2 separate regions of the Homo sapiens genome follow, and region 2 is linked to region 1. The links are contacts of gene promoters, found by promoter capture Hi-C in blood cells and fetal thymus (Javierre and others, 2016). All regions are on one chromosome and are shown on one strand. The core of a region is centred on a gene start or on the middle of the fragment in contact, and the rest is flanking DNA. Distances in the headings are between cores, read along the strand shown. Region 1 holds the start of DNAJB2 (DnaJ heat shock protein family (Hsp40) member B2). Region 2 holds the start of TRY-ATA1-1 (tRNA-Tyr (anticodon ATA) 1-1).

Evidence for each region. Contacts are between HindIII fragments. The CHiCAGO score rates a contact against its expected background, and 5 or more counts as called.
Region 2: a contact is called between a fragment that was not itself captured here and the fragment with the promoter of DNAJB2 in region 1, in 1 of 17 cell types (naive CD8 T cells). The highest score is 6.5, in naive CD8 T cells.

What each region holds. Positions count from the first base shown.
Region 1 is chr2:219,276,591-219,280,615 of GRCh38, forward strand. It overlaps DNAJB2 (DnaJ heat shock protein family (Hsp40) member B2), which reads left to right and starts at 2,776. Exons shown (of 9, transcript NM_006736.6): 1 at 2,776-2,928; 2 at 3,208-3,308; 3 at 3,988-4,025. The coding sequence starts at 3,244. RefSeq lists an enhancer at 896-1,600 and silencers at 1,177-1,379, 2,621-3,100. The HindIII fragment of the contact is 26,435 bases long and covers 1-4,025 here.
Region 2 is chr2:218,244,171-218,248,379 of GRCh38, forward strand. It overlaps ARPC2 (actin related protein 2/3 complex subunit 2), which reads left to right. Exons shown (of 11, transcript NM_152862.3): 8 at 1,250-1,376. It overlaps TRY-ATA1-1 (tRNA-Tyr (anticodon ATA) 1-1), which reads left to right and starts at 1,656; the gene lies at 1,656-1,748. The HindIII fragment of the contact is 2,406 bases long and covers 759-3,164 here.

The sequences.
Region 1 (4,025 bases), core at 1,526-4,025:
CCAGTCTGGCCAACATGGTGAAACCCCATCTCTACAAAAAATACAAAAATTAGCCAGGGGTGGTGGCACATGCCTGTAATCCCAGCTACTTGGGAGGCTGAGGCAGGGGAATTGCTTGAACCTGGGAGGTTGCAGTGAGCCAAGATAGTGCCACTGCACTGGAGCCTGGATGACAGAGCAAGACTCCATCTCAAAAAACAAAACCCCAAAGTATTTTGTTGTAGCTTTATTATTATTATTCTTTTAAAAATTATTATTATTTGAGATGGAGTTTCACTCTTGTTGCCCAGGCTGGAGTGCAATGGCACGATCTTGGCTCACTGCAACCTCCGCCTCCCGGGTTCAAGTGATTTTCCCGTCTCAGCCTGCCGAGTAGCTGGGATTACAGGCATGTGCCACCACGCCTGGCTACTTTTTGTATTTTTGGTAGAGACAGGGTTTCACCATATTGGCCAGGCTGATCTGAAACTCCTGACCTCAGGTGATCTACCCGCCTTGGCCTCCCAAAGTGCTGGGATTACAGGCATGAGCCACCATGCCTGGCCTGTCGTAGCTTTAGTTTACAGTTTTTTTGTGAATGAGATTGAGCATCTTTTCATTTGTTTAAAAGCCAGTATTTCCTCTTCTGTGAGCTGCCTGTCCCTTTGTCCATTTAAAAATGTCATTGTCTTTCATTAGTTGGCATTTCTTTGTGGACAAAGGAAATTAAACCTTTGTCTGCTAGATGTGCTCCATATAATTTCCCTCAGTTGTCATTTGTCTATGTCCTATCCCCTTGAGCACAGAGATTGGAATTTAAACTTTTTTATATTCTTTTTCTTAATATAACAAGACATACACGGTAGGTGCTAGACAAATGTCTGTTGGCACAGCAGAGTAAGAAGAAAAAGGCAGAGATCTGGAAAATTTGGAGTGACTTAACCCAACCACTCCTTCCTCTTATACCAAGTCTAACCCTTAGTCTTTGTGTCAGTCAGGACTCTTATAAACAGCAGAAGCTAACTGGCAAATTGTTTCAAGTCCCCTGCCCCCAACAATTATAGAGATATCGGATAGCACACAGAATCAATGCAAGGGCCAGCAAACAAGGGTCAGCAATCAGACAGGCACCTAGGGAAGCTGGGCAGCCAGTACCACAGTCAAGGTTGGGCACAGGACAGCCTGTGTAGGAGACTCCTGTCCCCTCCACCCTCCGCAGTGATCCTCCTACTCTCGTCCCTCACCTGCGGCAGTAGCGCTGACACTTCCTCCTCCAGACACTAGAGGCCGCTGTTGGCCCCATCGCCTCCACCGCCGCCGCAGAAATGAATTCCTAAACCAGCCTTGCTATTCCGTGACTTGCTCCAGATTCAAAGTCCCAGTTGGAGCATCCGATTGGCGGAGCTCATGTCTTCTGCCTGCAACCCCAGAGCCGAGTCAGGGAGAGCAAGCATTGGGGCTTTGTGGCAAATGGTGGCCTGCTTTCCATTAGGGCCCTTGCGATGGGAATTCCCCAAATGTAGGCAGGAGGTTCTGATGGTGGGCAGCCAGGAAACCAGGACACTCACACCACCTTCTTCTCTCACGTCCGCCTCAAACCCTTCTCGTTGGCGAAGTATTCCTGGGTCCCCCAGCCTAAAGCACTTTTCTGGACTCACATAACCATTATTGCTTGAGCCAATCACGATGCCAGCAGGACCGCAGTAACACCTAATTCGTACCATGTCTCATTTGACTTTCAAACAACCCTAGGCACTACCTATATTTAGTGAGAAAAAAAGAGTGCTCAGAGATTTTCCCAAGTCTCACAGTAATGCCAGGTTGTACTCTGTTTCCAAAGCCTCGGGTTTCCCAGCGGGCTACACTGATGGGCTGGTATCTTATCAAGTTCAAGCTCTGCAAAGGCAGGGCTTGGGCCACATTCTTCTTTATACGGCCTGGCAGCATCTTGAATGCAGAAAAATGCTCAGCTAACGCCTTTGGATTGGCCTGGATGGGATCAAGCAGGAGCCAGTTCTGGAAGGTTTCCTAACTCTCCAATGAGGCCTGAACCCAGGGAGCATTTTGAAGTGGAATAGGCCTACTCAGGATCAGTTTGGGAAGACTTGAACCTGGGGAATTCCGTTGTACGGCCCCCTTTACCTCACCTCCCCCAAATGTGTCAAAACTGTCAACAAGAGGTTTGCAGGTGTTCATTATTTATTCATCCCACGGGTAGTTTTGAACCCCTACGACTGCTCTAATAGACCAGTGAGAAAAAACACACAATTCCTGTCCTGTGAAATCGACATTCTAGTGGGGGAGGTGAATGGTAATAAAAAATAATCAAACCAATAAATGCTAATTTGTGGCTCTAACAAGCCTGATGAAGGAAATGCCACGAGATGCTGTAAAAGGCAGTTCTGACCTACTCAGGAAAGCCAGGGCAGCCTGCTGGGGGACCTGGGGCTGGAGCTGGGAGCTGAAGAAGGGGGAGGAGTTAGAACCGTGGTGGGGGGAGGGAGGGAAGAGTCTGAGTCCTCGAGGTGGGTGAGTAAGCATGGATCATCGCTCATGTTTATAAGAAAGTGACAGAGGAACCTGGGGGCCGAGCGGCTTGTTTGTGGGCTGCCCCAGCCTCCGTGCGAGCGCTTCTCGCTTGGATGGAGGCGGGGCCGCAGTCTCCCAGGTCCCAGCTGGGGCTGACGTCGTCCTGGTGTGTGCCCAAAATAGCCGGCTCCGCCCTCTTCTCCCGGCAGCCCCTGCAGGCCCCCACCCCCCCAGGGGACAGGCGGAGCCGGCCTTCTCCCCGTCTCTAGTAGTTTCCGCACCGCTGACGCATGCCTGCGCGCACAGCTGGGCCGGGCGCGTCCTACGCAGCAGCCGCGAGCCGGGCTGCGGGTGCCAGACGGTTCCCGGCGGGGGGCAGGGGCGGGGCGCCGCAGGAGGCCGGGACTCCTGGCGGAGGAGGTGCGGCCGGGGGCCCGGGTCAGGCTGGGGGCCCTGGATCGGACTGCTGGAGTTGGGGGGCCCCGATAGGGCTCCTGGGCCTGGGCGTCGAGATAGCTCTTGGCCCCGGCCTGCGGGGGCAGATAAGGCTGCCGGAGGGAGCCTAGTCACCGGCCGCAAGCAGAGCCCGGTGTGCTCCGCTTCCAACTGGGAGCGCCTTCCGCCACCCGGGGAGGGGGACTGCTGCAGCCACAGGGTGGGGCTCTTGGTTCTTTCCGCCTGACTCCTTCTCTTCTGCAGCCCCAAGGAGGCCCGCCTGACGACTGACCAGTTGCCATGGCATCCTACTACGAGATCCTAGACGTGCCGCGAAGTGCGTCCGCTGATGACATCAAGAAGGCGTAAGTGCCTCCGTATGCAACAGAAGACCTCTCACCCTCCACCCGCCACCACCATGGGGCACTTCAGAGTGACACCTGTAGGTGTCTGAGGGAACCAGGTCGTTAGAAAGCACTGGGGTGCTTCTTCCGAGTGACACCTGCAGGGAGGAAAGAGACCCCTGGTAGAGTACAAGGAGAACGTCCAGAGAGTGAAGTAGTTAGTTCCTCTGGGAGCTGCACTGTGTTATGGGTTGTTCTCCAGTTGATCTTCCCCTCCTCCTCCTCCTCCTCCTCCTTTCCCCTCCCCTCCCCCTTCCCCCTAGATTTGGGCATTCTCAGGCTGCAGTGCAAAGATGCAGTGCAAAGAGGCTCTATGAGGAGGAGGGGCCGGTGTCCCTGTACTCTTCGAGGCCACATGTGCCCCAACCTTTGCAGCCCCAGTCCAGTGAGCCCTAGGGAGGGGCTAGGGACCCTGGCATTGTATCCGCTTGTACATGTGGTCCCAGCACTGGTGGCGGAGGAGAGAGGGTGGAACTTGATGAAAATATCACAGCAGCGGCAGCCCTAGCAGCTGGGGTGGACTGGGACCCGGGGGTGAAAGGACAGTGATAGGCTAATGGGAAAACAGGTCGTTCGGTTCCTGGGTGGGAAGTGCCTGCATTTGTCCCCCGACTCTCTCCTCTGCACCCACTTTCTGCAGGTATCGGCGCAAGGCTCTCCAGTGGCACCCAGACAAAA
Region 2 (4,209 bases), core at 712-3,211, 1.0 Mb before region 1:
AAATCTGTTCAAAAGGGGACTAATCTAACCCAGTTGATGGTCATTTCTTTTCCTACTTAAAGCTTGGTAGTGTTAGCATGAGAGGCAGTTTGTGAAATAGGTGAGGTCCCAGGCTGGGCATTGGGGCTCCTCAGCCATCATCTTTCTTTTGCCACTAATTGTCGAGAGGGCTTGCTAATCAGTGTTTATTCTTCCTGCCTGCAACTGGAAACAGCCCTTGCCTATTCCTGTACAGTGTGATGATACTAAACCAGCTAGGGTAGAAGCACTTGCTTTCTCTCAGCAAGGCATGTGCTGCATAGCCTCTTTGAAAGACAGAAGAATAAATTACAAAGATAAATTAAGCAGGATCTTTGATTTGAACTCATAACCTGGTAGGGGAGCCAGATACATTAATGAATGGTAAAATATCATAGTAGAGGTTTGTAGAAAAGACATGGCAGCTCCAGCAAGAGAGCAGTACCTGCCTGGGTTTGTTGGAGATGGTATTAGGAGGCAGTATTTGAGCAGCAGTAGAAGGGCACGCAGGCCACATGGCTGTGTAACCATGCCTTCAGAACTCCTAAAACAAGAGACCTTGGAGAGTCCTTGGCAGCATCCTCCTGCTGTCTATCATCTTGGAAGGCCCACTTGATGAATTTGGATTATCCAGTTTTACTGGCATTGCTAGAAAATCTACTTCTGTTCTTGCAGATCTGGCTGAGAGAGAGAAGCCTTGTATTACTTGTCTATTTACATAGGAATGTATGGACTGTAGAAGCTTCAGGTTTGGAGATTGGAACATAGAAGGAAGGGCTTCCTTTATGAGCACCAAGACAACTCAGCTTCTTTCATTCCATTGTCTTCTGTCCGCAAGAAGAGCTTAAGTTTGCTCTAAAGATTTTATTGATGAATTCTAAATAGCAACAGGATCCTCAGTGAAAAAAGACTCATGCAAAGTCCCAGAGCCCAGAGAAAGTATGGTAGTTTATCACCTATGTTAGTGCAAAGGAAAAGGATTATCACTACTTTTCATCACATTTTGAAGATCTGACTTATTAAGTACTTTGCAGTCTCTCCCGTTTGAATCTGAAGTGTAGTGGTAGCAGCTAGCACTTGTCATATTTCAGGTTTGGTGTAGTTTATTTTTAACCTCCTGCTGGTCTGGAGGGCTACAAAGGTCACACCACATAGAACAAACCCTATAGCTTGAGTTGCCACTCATCTTACACCCACTTCTCTTCTGGTTGCTTTTGCTTTGTCTTGGCAGGAGTTCAAAGAAGGACGCAGAGCCAGCCACACAGCCCCACAGGTCCTCTTTAGCCACAGGGAACCTCCTCTGGAGCTGAAAGACACAGACGCCGCTGTGGGTGACAACATTGGCTACATTACCTTTGGTGAGCAGGGTGCACTTGCTGCTTTTGTGCCGCTTTAATGAGTTCACACAGCAGAATACCTAAATCTGCACAGAACCTTGGTTAACATTTTAAGGTAGGCAAACGCAGGCATACCAACTTGTTCCTGTTGCCATTGCAGTGACTAAAGGAGGGATGTCACAGGGTATTAATTACAGAGCAGGCCATATGCTATTTTTGTACAGTAATCCTTTCCTTTTTTTCCCCATTTTTCTTAAATCTTAAAAATAAGACTGAATTCTGATATCAAGAGTTAAGGTCCCTTCAATAGTTCAGCTGGTAGAGCAGAGGACTATAGCTACTTCCTCAGTAGGAGACGTCCTTAGGTTGCTGGTTCGATTCCAGCTTGAAGGAGACAAGTACAGTTTTGGCTGGGCACGGTGGTTCATGGCTGTAATCACAGCACTTTGGGAGGTTAAGGCAGGTGGATCACGAGGTCAGGAGATCAAGATCATCCTGGCCAATGTGGTGAAACTCTGTCTCTACTAAAATACAAAAAAAAATTAGCTGGGCATGGTGGCGCACGTCTGTAGTCCCAGGTACTCCAGAGGCTGAGGCAGGAGAATTGCTTGAACCCGGGAGGTGGAGGTTGTAATGAGCTGAGATCGTGCCACTGGACTCCAGCCTGGGCAACAGAACAAGACTCTTGTCTCCAAAAAAAAAAAAAAAGAGTTGAGGCTGGGTGCGGTGTCTCACGCCTGTAATCCTAGCACTGTGGGAGGCCAACATGGGCAGATCACCTGAGGTCAGGAGTTCGAGACCAGCCTGACCAACATGGTGAAACACTCCGTCTCTACCAAAAAAATAACAAAGAAATTAGCTGGGCGTGGTGGTGTGCGCCTGTAATCCCAGCTACTCGGGAGGCTGAGGCACAAGAATCCCTTGGACCCAGGAGGCGGAGGTTGCAGTGAGCTGAGATCACACCATTGCACTCCAGCCTGGATGACAGAGTGAGACCTTGTCTCAAAAAGAAAAAAGAAAAGAGTAAAGGATAGGCGGGGCACAGTGGCTCATACCTGTAATCCCAGCACTTTGGGAGTCCGAGGTTGGTGGGTCACTTGGGTCCAGGAGTTTGGGACCAGCCTGGATAACATGGTGCAGGCTCATCTCTACAAAAAGCAAGGGGCCAGGCACAGTGGCTCACACCTGTAATCCCAGCACTTTAAGAGGCCAAGGCGAGCAGATCACTTGAGGTCAGAAGTTCGAGACCAACCTGGCCAACATGGTGAAACCACACCTCTACTAAAAATACAAAAATTAGTTGGACATGGTGACATGTGCCTATAGTCTATAGTCCCAGCTACTCGGGCAAGCGAGGCATGGCAATTGCTTAAACCCAGAAAGTGGAGGTTGCAGCAAGCCGAGATCATCCTGCTGCGCTCCAGCCTGGGAGACTGTCTCAAAAAAAAAGATAACTAGGCATGGTGGTGCATGACTGTAGTCATAGCTACTTGAGAGGCTGAGGTGAGAGGATCACTTGAACCCAGGAGGTAGAGGCTGCAGTGAGCTGTGATGGCACCACTACACTCCAGCCTGGGTGGCAGAGTGAGACCCTATCTCACCAAAAAAAGGAGTTAAGAAGAGAACCACCTAAGCAGCTAGATGGGGGTTCTCTGTCATTTGGCAATTCTTGGTTTTTTGCTTATTAAGCCCAAGCTCCAGCCGTGATCCACTTACTCCACTTTTTCGCGGAATAAATTCAGGTCTTCCTTCAGTTGCTCCAGCCTCATGCACTGGCTGATTATGATAGCTTACAGTTTGGAATTAATAAGCTTGTTCACACTGCACCCAATGCCACTGGAATGTCTCCTTTGTGAAATGTAATTTAATTCACCTCAGTGGTAAAGGTGAACCTGTTTATTGGTGATGAATCTGTTGATTTACCAAATTTCATTAAATCTAAACTATACACTTTTTTCTTTTTTCTTTCTCTCTGTCACCCAGGCTGGAGTGCAGTGGTGTGATCTCGGCTCACTGCAACCTCTGCTTCCCAGGCTCAAACAATTCTCGTGCCTCAGCTTCCCAGGTAGCTGGGACCACAGGCGTGTGCCACCACACCCGGCTAATTTTTGTATTTTCAGTAGAAACAGGGTTTCCAGCTGGGCACGGTGGCTCACGCCTGTAATCCCAGCACTTTGGGAGGCCGAGGCAAGTGGATCACGATGTCAGGAGATCGAGACCATCCTGGCTAACACAGTGAAACCCCATCTCTACAAAAAATACAAAAACTTAGCTGGGCGTGGTGGTGGGTGCCTGTAGTCCCAGCTACCCTGAAGGCTGAGGCAGGAGAATGGCGTGAACCTGGGAGGCGGAGCTTGCAATAGGCCAAGATCACGCGACTGCACTCCAGCCTGGGCGACAGAACAAGACTCCGTCTCAAAAAAAATTAAAAAAAAAAAAAAGAAACAGGGTTTCCATGTTGGCCAGGCTGATCTCAACTCCTGGCCTCAAGCAATCCACTCACTTCAGCCTCCCAAAGTGCTGGGATTACAGGCGTGTGCCACTGCGCCCAGCCAGCTATACCATTTTTTTCAAGTTTTTGTCTTTGAAGCTGGGATGCATCTTACAATTCATAGCATGTCACACTTTAATTGGCAGCATGTTTCTCTTGTGGTACATAAAATTATGGCAGACTTACAGTCATAAGCACCTTAGATTCTTTGAAGTATAGTTGTCTTCTGTTGTGGTGTTCATTTACTTTCAGGCCAGGGCACATTGACACAGAAATTCCACACTTCCTTAGGAGGCATTCCTTTTCATTTCAACGAAAACTTCAGACAACTGACGGGGTTTTGCAGATAGTGAGTAGAGGAGG